Linked DNA regions of Homo sapiens: all the other regions are linked to region 3. Evidence: promoter capture Hi-C in human tissues and cell types (Jung and others, 2019). All regions are on one chromosome and are shown on one strand. Each heading gives the region's core, a stretch centred on a gene start or on the middle of the fragment in contact. The rest is flanking DNA. Distances are from core to core; before and after follow the strand shown.

Region 1 (3,654 bases), core at 472-2,971, 64 kb after region 3:
TCTGCTCCTGAAGTGGAGATTAAATAAAAAACAGGTTGCATGAATAAATACAAGTATGATGAAAAGCACTACGCTTAGAACTGATTGTCTCATAGTAAATTCCGAGGATGGTTTGAGGGTGAATCAATTAAATTCTCTTCAGATTTATTACTTTTCTGATGAGGAATTGGATTTCATATATCACAGTAATCTTCTGTGTGTGTGTGTGTGTGTGTATGTGTGTATTACACACACAGAGACATACTCTCTCTCTCACCAGGCAAGAAGACAATAGAAATCAAATATATAAGGAGGTCTTAATACATACTTAATATGTACTCAATCATCTTATTGCAGCAAATTCTCATTTGCTATCGTTCAATTTTAAAAATAAGAATAACAAAATCTGACACTATGTTTGCCTTCCCCAGACAAGGACCAAAACTTAAACTGCTCATACAACTCTTTAAAAACTCAAATTACTTTTTCTCTTAAGATTAAAAAAAAATCTGGCTAAATTCTTTACTTTGTAAGCCTGCTACTGATTTAATTTTATTCACTGTCTATTAATTTAAAGTGATACTTAGAACTAAAAGATATTTCTCAGCACTGCTCTAGACCCTTCAGTTTTTCCAGAGGACAATACTTCTAAGTAACAAAGACAACTATTCATTTCTGCCAATGGTTTCCCAAAGGCTGTATCTTCTCAGTAGGATATGCTAAATATTTCCAACCTGTACATGAAGCAAATTATAAAGGAAACTCACACAATGAATAAAATAATTAAATTATTGTCTATTTGAATTGAGAAAGATGAGTTATGGATGTGATCAGGAAAACCAATGATTGTCTACTGCCACTTAGAGAACTTAAGTAGATCTGAAAGGATTAAACACAACCTTGGGACCACTGTGCCACAATAAATAATGATAATAATAATAATAAATTAGATAGACACTGGAAAGCACTTAAAAAAGAGTGTGTGTGTATGTATGTGTGTGTGTGATTTTATGACTTCAAAATATGTTAAGATCTCAACACATCAAAGCATTTTAATGAAATCTCTAATACGTTAGCAAAATTTAAATGGACACAGATTATCTATGCCATATCTAATCTGATGAGCTGAGAGACAACCATCACCCTGGTAGTCTCACCGTGTTTTCTCTTCAAGGCCTAAGACAAAAACTGTTTGGAAAATAATTTGTCTAGAAAACCAAATAGTAATAAATGAATGTGGATTTTATTTTTATTTGTGAATTTATTCAGTTGAGATGCCCATCAGATGGCTTGGTGGCCAAGCTTTGTACTTTAATGGGTAATAAAATTACTGTAAAAAATAATAAAAACTAATTAATTTTCACTAAATATCATGTTTTGTTAAAATGGAAACCTTTACAGCATCACTCAAATCCTTTAATTTAGATAACTTTTTCACTTTTATTTTATTAAATTATTTGTTGCCATTACAATCATTATTATCATTATAGTACTTACTGTTCCTTTCTTATTATTCATTATTATTACTATTATTATTGTCTTGAAGAAAACAGGGAAAATATATGTAACATTGAGAAGCTGCTATTTTTTATATTGTCAAAAATTTCTACCTTGTTGCTAAATGTGGTATGTGGAGATTAGACATTATAAAGGATTCCATTTGGGGAGTCCATACACTGTTTCTTCTTAGGGTGAAAGATGGGCTTGGTGTTTTAGGCTCTATCTCCCCTGGTTCTCAAGCAGATTAGACAGGAAGATGTATGGTTGGCCTCTTTCTAATATTGCAACGATAAAGGAATCTAAATGTAGATGCTTCTAAGTGAAATGTTAAGTGACTTGTTCTTTAGGGACAAAATTGGATTTTTGTTGAGATTATTATGAAGGCAACTGATATGGCTTTGATCTGTGTCCCTACCAAATCTCACATTAAAATGTAATCACAAATATCGTAGGTGGGGCCTGGTGGGAGGTGATTGGATCATGGCAGCAGATCTCTCATGGCTTGGCGCTGTCATTATGATAGTGAGTGAGTTCTCATGAGATCTGGTTGTTTAAAAGTGTGTGTCACTTTCTCACTTGCTCTCGCTCCTGCCATGTGACATGCCTGCTCCCATTTTGCCTTCTGCCATGATTGTAAGTTCCCTAAGGCCTCCCCAGAAGCCCAGAATGTGCCAGCACTGTGCTTCCTACTTATACAGCCTGCAGAACTGTGAGCCAATTAAACCTCCTTTCTCTATAAATTACCCAGTGTATTAACCCGTTTTCATGCTGCTGACAAAGACATACTGGAGACTAGGAAGAAAAAGAGGTTTAATTGGACTTACAGTTCCACATGGCTGGGGAGGCCTTAGAATCCTGGCAGGAGGTGAAAGGCACTGCTTACATGGTGGCAGCAGGAGAAAATGAGGAAGAAGCAAAAGTGGAAACCCCTGATAAATCCATCAGATCTCGTGAGACTTATTCACTACCACAAGAATAGCACGGGAAAGACCAGCCCCCATGAATCAATTACCTCCCCCTGGATCCCTCCCACAACAAGTGGGAATTCTGGGCGATACAATTCAAGTTGAAATTTGGGTGGGGACACAGTAAAACCATATCACCCAATCTCAGGTACTTCTTTACAGCAGTGCAAGAACAGCCTAACACAGCAGCATTTTCTCATTTTAGATTACTGGAAGTAGGGTAGCTTCTTCAACTTTGCATCATGACACAGCTAGGAATACAAAAGGCCAATGATGAATGATGGACATCTCTGGAGCATCAATCTTGATGGACAAGAATGATATAGAATACTTAGCATTTAGAATTGTCTCCTTTTCTTTGCATTTTAATTCCACTCTGTTTTCCTCAAGGTCTTCAATAACATTTTATTAAATTCTAAGCTTAGTGTGAGTTGAGTTTTCAAAAATTTAAGGGGAAAGCTTCTATGCACACTCAGTATGAAGTCAATTAAGGAGATTTGCTACAAAAACACAGAACTGTTGGAAAAGCCCAAAGCAGCATTCAGGAGACAGAGATGAGAGATAAATTTGTAAAAAATGTAAGGCAAAAATGAGTTAATGCTGCACATTCTCTTTTATGACCTACTTTTTCATTTAACTTGTTTTGTAAGCAAGTTGCAAGTCATGAAATAGTTTCCATTATTTTTTCAAATGTGTTTTAGCCAAGCAAACCTGTATTCAAAATAAAATTTACTAGAAAATTATACAAACATATGTTAGAAAATGTTTTTTAAAGACAAAATTATGACCCTTATGTGTACATAAAATAAGTACATCAATGTATTTATTTTACTCAATCATTAATGAGGAACTAATGAGGTGATATAGCCAGTTCAAAGGAAAATTCAAAGAACCACACATACATGCATACACAAGTAAGGAGTGTTAAAATGCACTTTCAAGTGGATGCAAAATGTCCTAATCAATTGCATTCTGTGAAGACCCACTTAATTTGCATTTCTAGGGACCCAAATAATTTGTATTATCAGTTTTCTACAACTTCCAGAGTTGTCAAATAGCTCAAGGACCATGAAAAGCAGATACGAGCAGGCAGGTGCACCTAGATAGGACACTCAATCATCTGTATTTTTAAAATCTTTCAAAATTTTTTCTGACATTTAATGAACATTTTTCATTGTTTTTTTTCTCAATGGTGTTTTAACCATCTAAA
Region 2 (3,343 bases), core at 158-2,657, 59 kb before region 3:
AGCCAAGATCGTGACATTGCACTCCAGCCTGGGCAATAAGAGCAAAACTCCATCTCAAAAAAAAGAAAGAGAGGATGAACGTCACCAGTGGAAGGTGGATGAGACACAGAGGAATTTCCAGTAAAACAGAAAGGAGAACTAAAAGGAGTTCATAACAATTTGAGGGATAAGAGGAGCAGCAGAGGACTCATTCAAATGTGTCCCAGCTCCCACATCAAGTGTTGAAATGGTGAAGGTTGCAGTGGAGGGGAGCTGCTCGGACATACTGGAAGAAAAGCAGAAGTGGAGAGTGCTTGAAAATCTGGGAGGGAAGTGTCTGTGGAGCGGACCTGCTCTGAGGTGGTGTGGTCCTGTCAGAATAAAAAGACAGGGCTGCTATTCTAGGTAAGAAGCCATCCACGCTAGCACTCCCAGGCCCTCCTCAATTCCCATGGGCAAAGATGACATTTGGGATACTTCTCTAAGTCCTGTGCAAGAGGCAGAAGGTACCTGATATGGCTGGATAAAATTTCCAAGGATGGTCACTGCAACAGAGTCAAAGTGGTTCTGAAATTAATAGCTGATGGACAGGCTGCCAGGATGGAATGGACTGCAGACCTCGAGATGCGCCATGATGATGACGGTCTGTGCAGTCTGCCTCAGCTGAGACACACACCCATCATCCCTGATTTCCATAGTGAACTGTACGGGCACAACACCGGAATCATTGCCTCCCAGGGGAGGCCAGAGAGAACCTGGGGAACAACACTCAGATCTGAGGCGTCCTCTCCCCACAAGACCATGATGTCACAGGACAACACTGGGCTCTATGTACCCAGATAACATCTCAGGGAGTGTATGGGGGGAGATTGATCTGACAGGGAAGTGAATCCACTGAACAATTATGCAGAATGAGGCAGAGATAACTTGATGCTTTAAGTACCCATTACTGCAATCAACACCACCAGCAGCAAACAAAGTAGGCTTGAAAAATACATGTGATAGGCTAGAGTATTGGTTTTGCACATATAGTACAGTATAAAATTGTGATGTCTCATGCAAGAATATTTTGAGAAAGTTCATATACTTAAAGATGTTTTAACTTTCTAATCGGAAGCTGTAAATGTACCCCGGTAACATAAGTGTCTTATGTATAGTTGATGAGAGTGGTATTATATCCAACTGGAATTTACACTGCAGCTTTAACAGCTCTTTTCCATACATTGAACAATTCAATATCACAATTTATTCCACAGTTCAGCAAGTTTATTGTCTCGGAGGAAGTTTAAATGGTCAAATCAATGCATATAAAATAGAAGGCCTTTTTTGCAGAGTCAAGCAAACAAGGAATGCAACTGACTTTAAGTGATGTTTTAAACACTTTTCTGACAAGAAATTCCAAATCTCTTCAATAACAACAGATTACAAACAAACTCTAAAAAAAAAAAGAAGAAAATCTGAAGCTTAAATATCAGAACGTCCAGTTAAAAGCAGTACTAACTTCCCATTCTGTCTTCATTTCTAGCCCCATGACTGAGCTCCATCCTCAGTTACGCACAGTTACTGCAGATGCTGATAGGCATTCCCAGTCTGAAGGATTTATAAGTCATCCTTATTCACTAGCCTGCCTTTTGCCTTGATGTAAACAGTTACAGTGGTAGAACTTTGCAAAAATGGTATTAATCAGGAATGAGGAATACTTTCTATTAGAAATACTTCCTGTTCACACAACATTTTTTAATCAACTGAGAAACGCTCAGTATAAAGAAACAACCTGGAAGAGATGGTGCTATGTGGAACAAGTCACACAGCGTTTTCAGAGTTAAAAGCATATAATACATGTCAAATAGCTGAAACAGCAGTGCTTGGGTTCATAAAAGCAGAATAGGGTGAATCTCGTAAGTGTGGACTGCCTAACTAGGAGACCTTCTGATTTTGAATGTCTCTGGTGGTGTTTCTTACCTTTGCTTCTCACCTCTTTTTATTGTATCCTTTGTGCTTTCTCAAGACAAATTCCAGAGTAGGCGAAGAAGTGGTGTGACATACGGAACTGCAAACATCTGCTTATCACCTACTTGTCCAACCATCACCTGGCTTTCCAGCAAAGGAAAGTCCCCACTAGGGCTTCTACTCACAACCAAATTCTGAGTCACTCGCCTGACCTCCTTGCTAATCAACTTAGCATAGCTTCTACTTTACTACTAAATGCCATACATCTGCTTATCAATTATCAAGCCACCTGCTAAGAATTTGTCTTTGCCTCAGGGCACTTTCTCTTAGTGCAAGTGTGGTATCGTGAAATGAGCTGCTCAATGGAGAACTACCCCGTGCAGTATCTGAAGTTAATCATTGCAATTTCTTTTTTTTTTCTTTTGAGACAGAGTCTTACTCTGTCGCCCAGGCTGGAGTGCAGTGGTGCAATCTCAGCTCACTGCAAGCTCCACCTCCCTGGTTCACGCCACTCTCCTGCCTCAGCCTCCCAAGTAGCTGGGACTACAGGTGCCCACCACCACACCCGGCTAATTTTTTTTGTATTTTTAGTAGAGACGGGGTTTCACCGTGTTGGCCAGGAGGTCTCAATCTCCTGACCTCGTGATCCGCCCGCCTTGGCCTCCCAAAGTGCTGGGATTACAGGTGTGAATGACCACGCCTGGCCAATCACTGCAATTTCTAATCACAGCTGAATGTTTTTAACTTTAAAGGATGAGAAAAGTAAACCCAAAAGAAACCTAACTGTATAAAGTTAAATTAGGCATAGAAGAAGCTTGAGAAAATTAAATTAAGCTCAGAACTGAAAACTATCAAATTCCTATTCAAGATAACTCTCCTATGCTATTAAAACTATTCTCTATCATTTTTAATGCTTTAATTATGGAATATAGTCGAATGCCTTGGCTTTATGATCTCAATAAATATAATTATTGTTGTGTCCATAAACCTATGAAATAAATTACAAATGATATTTTATAAGTTGTTTTTCTTACCTATTCTTCAACTTTATTTACAACAACAAAACACATAATCTATGAAAGAGAGGTAACAATTATCCTACTTTAAATGGTTGCTGAAAAAAGAAATGTAAAATTACTTAGAACAGTGCTTGACACCCAAGGAGCACTTTAGAAGCATTTGCTATTGTTATTGTTATTTATTCATTTCCCTAACACAACCAATAACATACTATTCAAGATCACTTTACAGTCACTATACTACATATATGCATATGTTTTTTTCTGGAGTGCTTATAAATTACAAGAAGTGTTTCTTTTGACATTATTTAAACAATTGCATTTTAAAAGAATTTCTCAAGTATTATAAAGCAAATATGATGAGAAAAACGTATTTGTTATCACTTTTTCAAAAG
Region 3 (3,578 bases), core at 961-3,460:
CTTTTAAATAAGTACCTGCATTTAAGGATGCACCGAGAAAGATGTGATAATGTGAACACAACACACATACCCTTTTTGTCAGAACAATGGGTCATCAAAGGTAAAAATTAACTAGGGAATTTCCAGCATTTTTCTTCATTGTGTACACCTCTCCTTCCTCCAGGCCCAAGAGAGGGTGAATAATGCTTATCTAGTTATGGAAGGGAAGAAAAGCTAGTCACAGAGCAACCCCGCACGGAATCTGCAGAACCCTAGATATATTTGACTTTGTCCACTCCCTTCCTCTGCGCTTCGCTAAAGCCCACACCTCTTGGGATGGAACCTAACGTGCCTTCCGCTTACAAACCGCTCTGCTAGGTTAGCCCCAACCACCATGCAACCTTTACGAAGTTACTTGTGCGTCCACACTGAGCGCGGATCACCTCAGCCACAGCCCAATAGAGCAAGGAACCAGGAGCTCCCGAAGCCCGGACACGAGCCGCGGCCAGTGCTGGGCGCCCTCAGGCGCTGCGCTCACGTGGTAGCGGCCCCGGGCACGTGCGCCTCCGACCTTAGGCGGCGAGAGGGAAGCGCCGCCCCGCGCGCGCGAGAGGCTGGCAGCGGCGCCAGAGGCGTAGAAGGGAGGGGAAGGACCTGGGACATTCAGGGACCCTGCGAGGCAAGAAGCTGAGCTTCAGGCAGTGCCGGTCCGACTGCATTTCCCTGGGGTGTTAGCTGGAAGGAAGACACAAATTTGAATGGGGTAGCAACTTAAAAACATTTTTCTTTTCAGTTTATTTTAAATGGGCAAATGCATCAGAATCCCATCTAGAAGTGAGTTCTTCCGAGATTGTCACAATCCCTTTCTAGCCTGGAACCCACACTTGAAATTCCTGGTAAAAGAGGGAGCCAAGGTGTCTCCAGGTAGCAATGCCATCCTCCTGTATCTTTTGGGGAACCCTGCCAACTCGCTCTCGAACAAGCGCTGGGAAACCGCGCCCTGGGGGAGAGGGGAAAGAAGACGGTGTCCCTTCCATATGCATAAAGCCCGCTGAGTGTTGGAATTTAAAACCTACAGCAGCAAGCTATATTTACGACTTGTTTCGTTTTGCTGGGGGAGGGGAGAGGGATCAGAAACTCTAGGACCTTATTCCCAAACTGGGAGATGGGAGCTTGGCAGTGGATCCCACTGGCACAGAACTCTAGTCAACTGGGGCCGCAGCGGCTGCCACTTGCGGGTGGGGAAGGGAAGGAAAAGGAGGGGGAGAGAAGGAGGGGCGGCGGAGGGGCTGACGCGGGAGGGAAGGAAACAGGTGAGCTCCCACCGCCACCCATGGGAAACCCAGCGCAGCGGCCCCCGGCGCGCCACCGTCCCAACCTGGAGAGCCACTTACCGGCTTTACACGGGTCCTTGTAATCTATAGTCTCTGTTTTATCCTCTTCGTTCCCATCAAAAGTGTAATCATAATCGAGGCCAGCGCAGACCCATAGCTCCCCGTAGAAAACAATCCCCGAGGCCACCAGCCACACGAGCATCCTCGGGGAAAGCGTTCCCAACCCCATCCTCCTCCCCCGGAGGAAAAGGAGGGGACGGGACCCAGAGGTTAGGCAGCCGCGGTCCGCGCTGATGTGCGGGGCTAGGGGCACCGGTGCTCTTCTCCCCACCCGGAGGCTCCTCGGCGGGACCGGGGTGCTCAGGTGTCCGGAAACATGTGGATGCCGCCGGGACAGTAGAGAGGGCAAGCACTGCCTGTTACCCCCAGTCGCAGGGAGAAGTTGGCTAGGGGCCCACGGGTGGGCGGAGGGCAGGTAAGGAACTCTGCACTCGGAGGCGGGGAGGGCGCAGGCAAACTCGGCTCTGGCGGCGCTGGCGCTCGCAGCCTGCCAGGTCGTCCTTCTGGCTGCCGAACTTCCCGCGGCCGCGGCTCGGCGAGCGGCGCCCCGCGGGCTCAGCTGCCACCAGAGCTCGGACTCCCGCGCCGCGTCCCCGCTGCTGCCAGGACTCCGCGGCCGAGCGCGAGCCGCCGCCGCCTGAGCCCAAAGCCGCCGCCGCAGCTCCGAGAAGATGAATCCGGTCTGCACATCAGCACATCTGAATTGAAAGGGGAGACCGAGGAAGGGGGTGGGGGCCAGGCATTTCTACGCCGCGAGACCTTAAAAGCCTGCAGAAGCCAGCAAAGCAACTGACTGCAAGAGAGCAAAAGTGTGAGGATTTGGGGATGCACTGTTTGCCTTCCCCCCGCCAGCCTGTCTTTTTACCCTCTTCCTAACTTGAAAAAAAAAAATATTCGCACCATCTAACCCAATCACTTGCATCCTGCTTACTTATTCATACAATCAGGGTCAGGATCCGGACCACAGCCTCCTCTCTTGACTTCTTTTGATAGCCTTAGACAAACAAACAGACAGGAGCGCGCTGACAATTCCATTTATATTTTACCAAAGATAAAAATGAATATATTATGTATCTGTGTACGCAAACAGCAATTAATAGATGATGTACGTGTCAGTTGAGAGTGCCAGACCGGGGGTGGAGCGAAGGATCGTGATAACTTAGCTGCAAATCCATATTTCCCCTCCCCCCAAATAAACAGCGAGTGTGTATTTCTTTCCTTTGCTGCTGTTTAACCTTAGAGCAGCGCAGGAATGGAGGAAAAGTGTGCGAGTCTTCACGATTTTGGTAAGAAAATAAACAGACTACTGTTGGTCTCCTAACCAACAAAGTTTTGCTAAGAACTAAGATCCTCAGAACTGCAATTAAAAAAAAAATCCAAAATCGAGTTACAGATTGCAGCAGCAGGAAACGCTGAGACCTTGCCGATGGGCTGGCGCTATGGCTCACGTGGGCGCAGGAAGGGAAGCTGGATGGAATACTCGGGAAGCAAATTTTCTGTGACAGTTCTGGCGCCCATGAGCAGAGTTGCTCAGTATCCTTCGGCTTCAGTAATGTTTTACTTCTTCAGAGGAGAGGGTGTAAAACCTGGCAGGAGGGTCAGCGAGGTAAACCACATGTCAGCCGAGCAGACTCAAGACAAACACAGGTTGTGGGAAATTGGGGAGGAAAAAAATCAGAGGAAATCTCTGTAAAACCCCTGTTGTGAGCAATTCCGAGGTTTCCCCACATCTGCAAGTAGTTTCCAAAATAGGTGAGATGACTTCTCCCCCAACAAGCTTCCAAGGGACTGGTGATTGGGAGCTTTCCTTTTCCAACTAAATCTTTAAAACTGTCACTTTAGCAAGGACTTGTAAAAAAAAAAAAAGCCTTACATATTATTTGACTAGTGTTCCCCCTATCCAAGTTATCATCTAGAGGAATGTATGAAGGTAAACACACACACACACACACACACACACACACACACACACACACAACTTTGACAGATAAAGTCATCTTTGGTTTGGAGATTTTACTAGGTTTTATTCATGTTTGTTAGAGAAAAGTAAGAAGCCAATCTTGAAAAAGTACCAAGTATTTTCAACTTAAACTAAAAGTATAGGAAGGCTAGGTGGAACTGAACTGACCAAGTGTTCTTTGCAAAACTGGGTCTTTCTCAGAGGCCACTGCAATGATGGAGCTTCCCTTCCATAGATCTTAAGCT

The links. The method cuts DNA at HindIII sites, captures the fragments that hold promoters and counts their contacts. A contact is called where the count stands out against the background at its distance.
Region 1: a contact is called between a fragment that was not itself captured here and the fragment with the promoter of TLL1 in region 3, in 2 of the 25 tissues and cell types used here (heart left ventricle and hippocampus).
Region 2: a contact is called between a fragment that was not itself captured here and the fragment with the promoter of TLL1 in region 3, in 1 of the 25 tissues and cell types used here (dorsolateral prefrontal cortex).

What each region holds. Positions count from the first base shown.
Region 1 is chr4:165,807,409-165,811,062 of GRCh38, reverse strand. No RefSeq gene overlaps it. Among named protein-coding and RNA genes, the nearest start is that of TLL1, 64 kb to the left of the region's middle. The HindIII fragment of the contact is 4,870 bases long and covers 1-3,654 here.
Region 2 is chr4:165,930,729-165,934,071 of GRCh38, reverse strand. The region is part of intron 1 of TLL1 (tolloid like 1); the gene reads right to left. Among named protein-coding and RNA genes, the nearest start is that of TLL1, 59 kb to the right of the region's middle. The HindIII fragment of the contact is 5,422 bases long and covers 1-3,343 here.
Region 3 is chr4:165,871,869-165,875,446 of GRCh38, reverse strand. It overlaps TLL1 (tolloid like 1), which reads right to left and starts at 2,210. Exons shown (of 21, transcript NM_012464.5): 1 at 1,374-2,210. The coding sequence starts at 1,542. The HindIII fragment of the contact is 12,105 bases long and covers 1-3,363 here.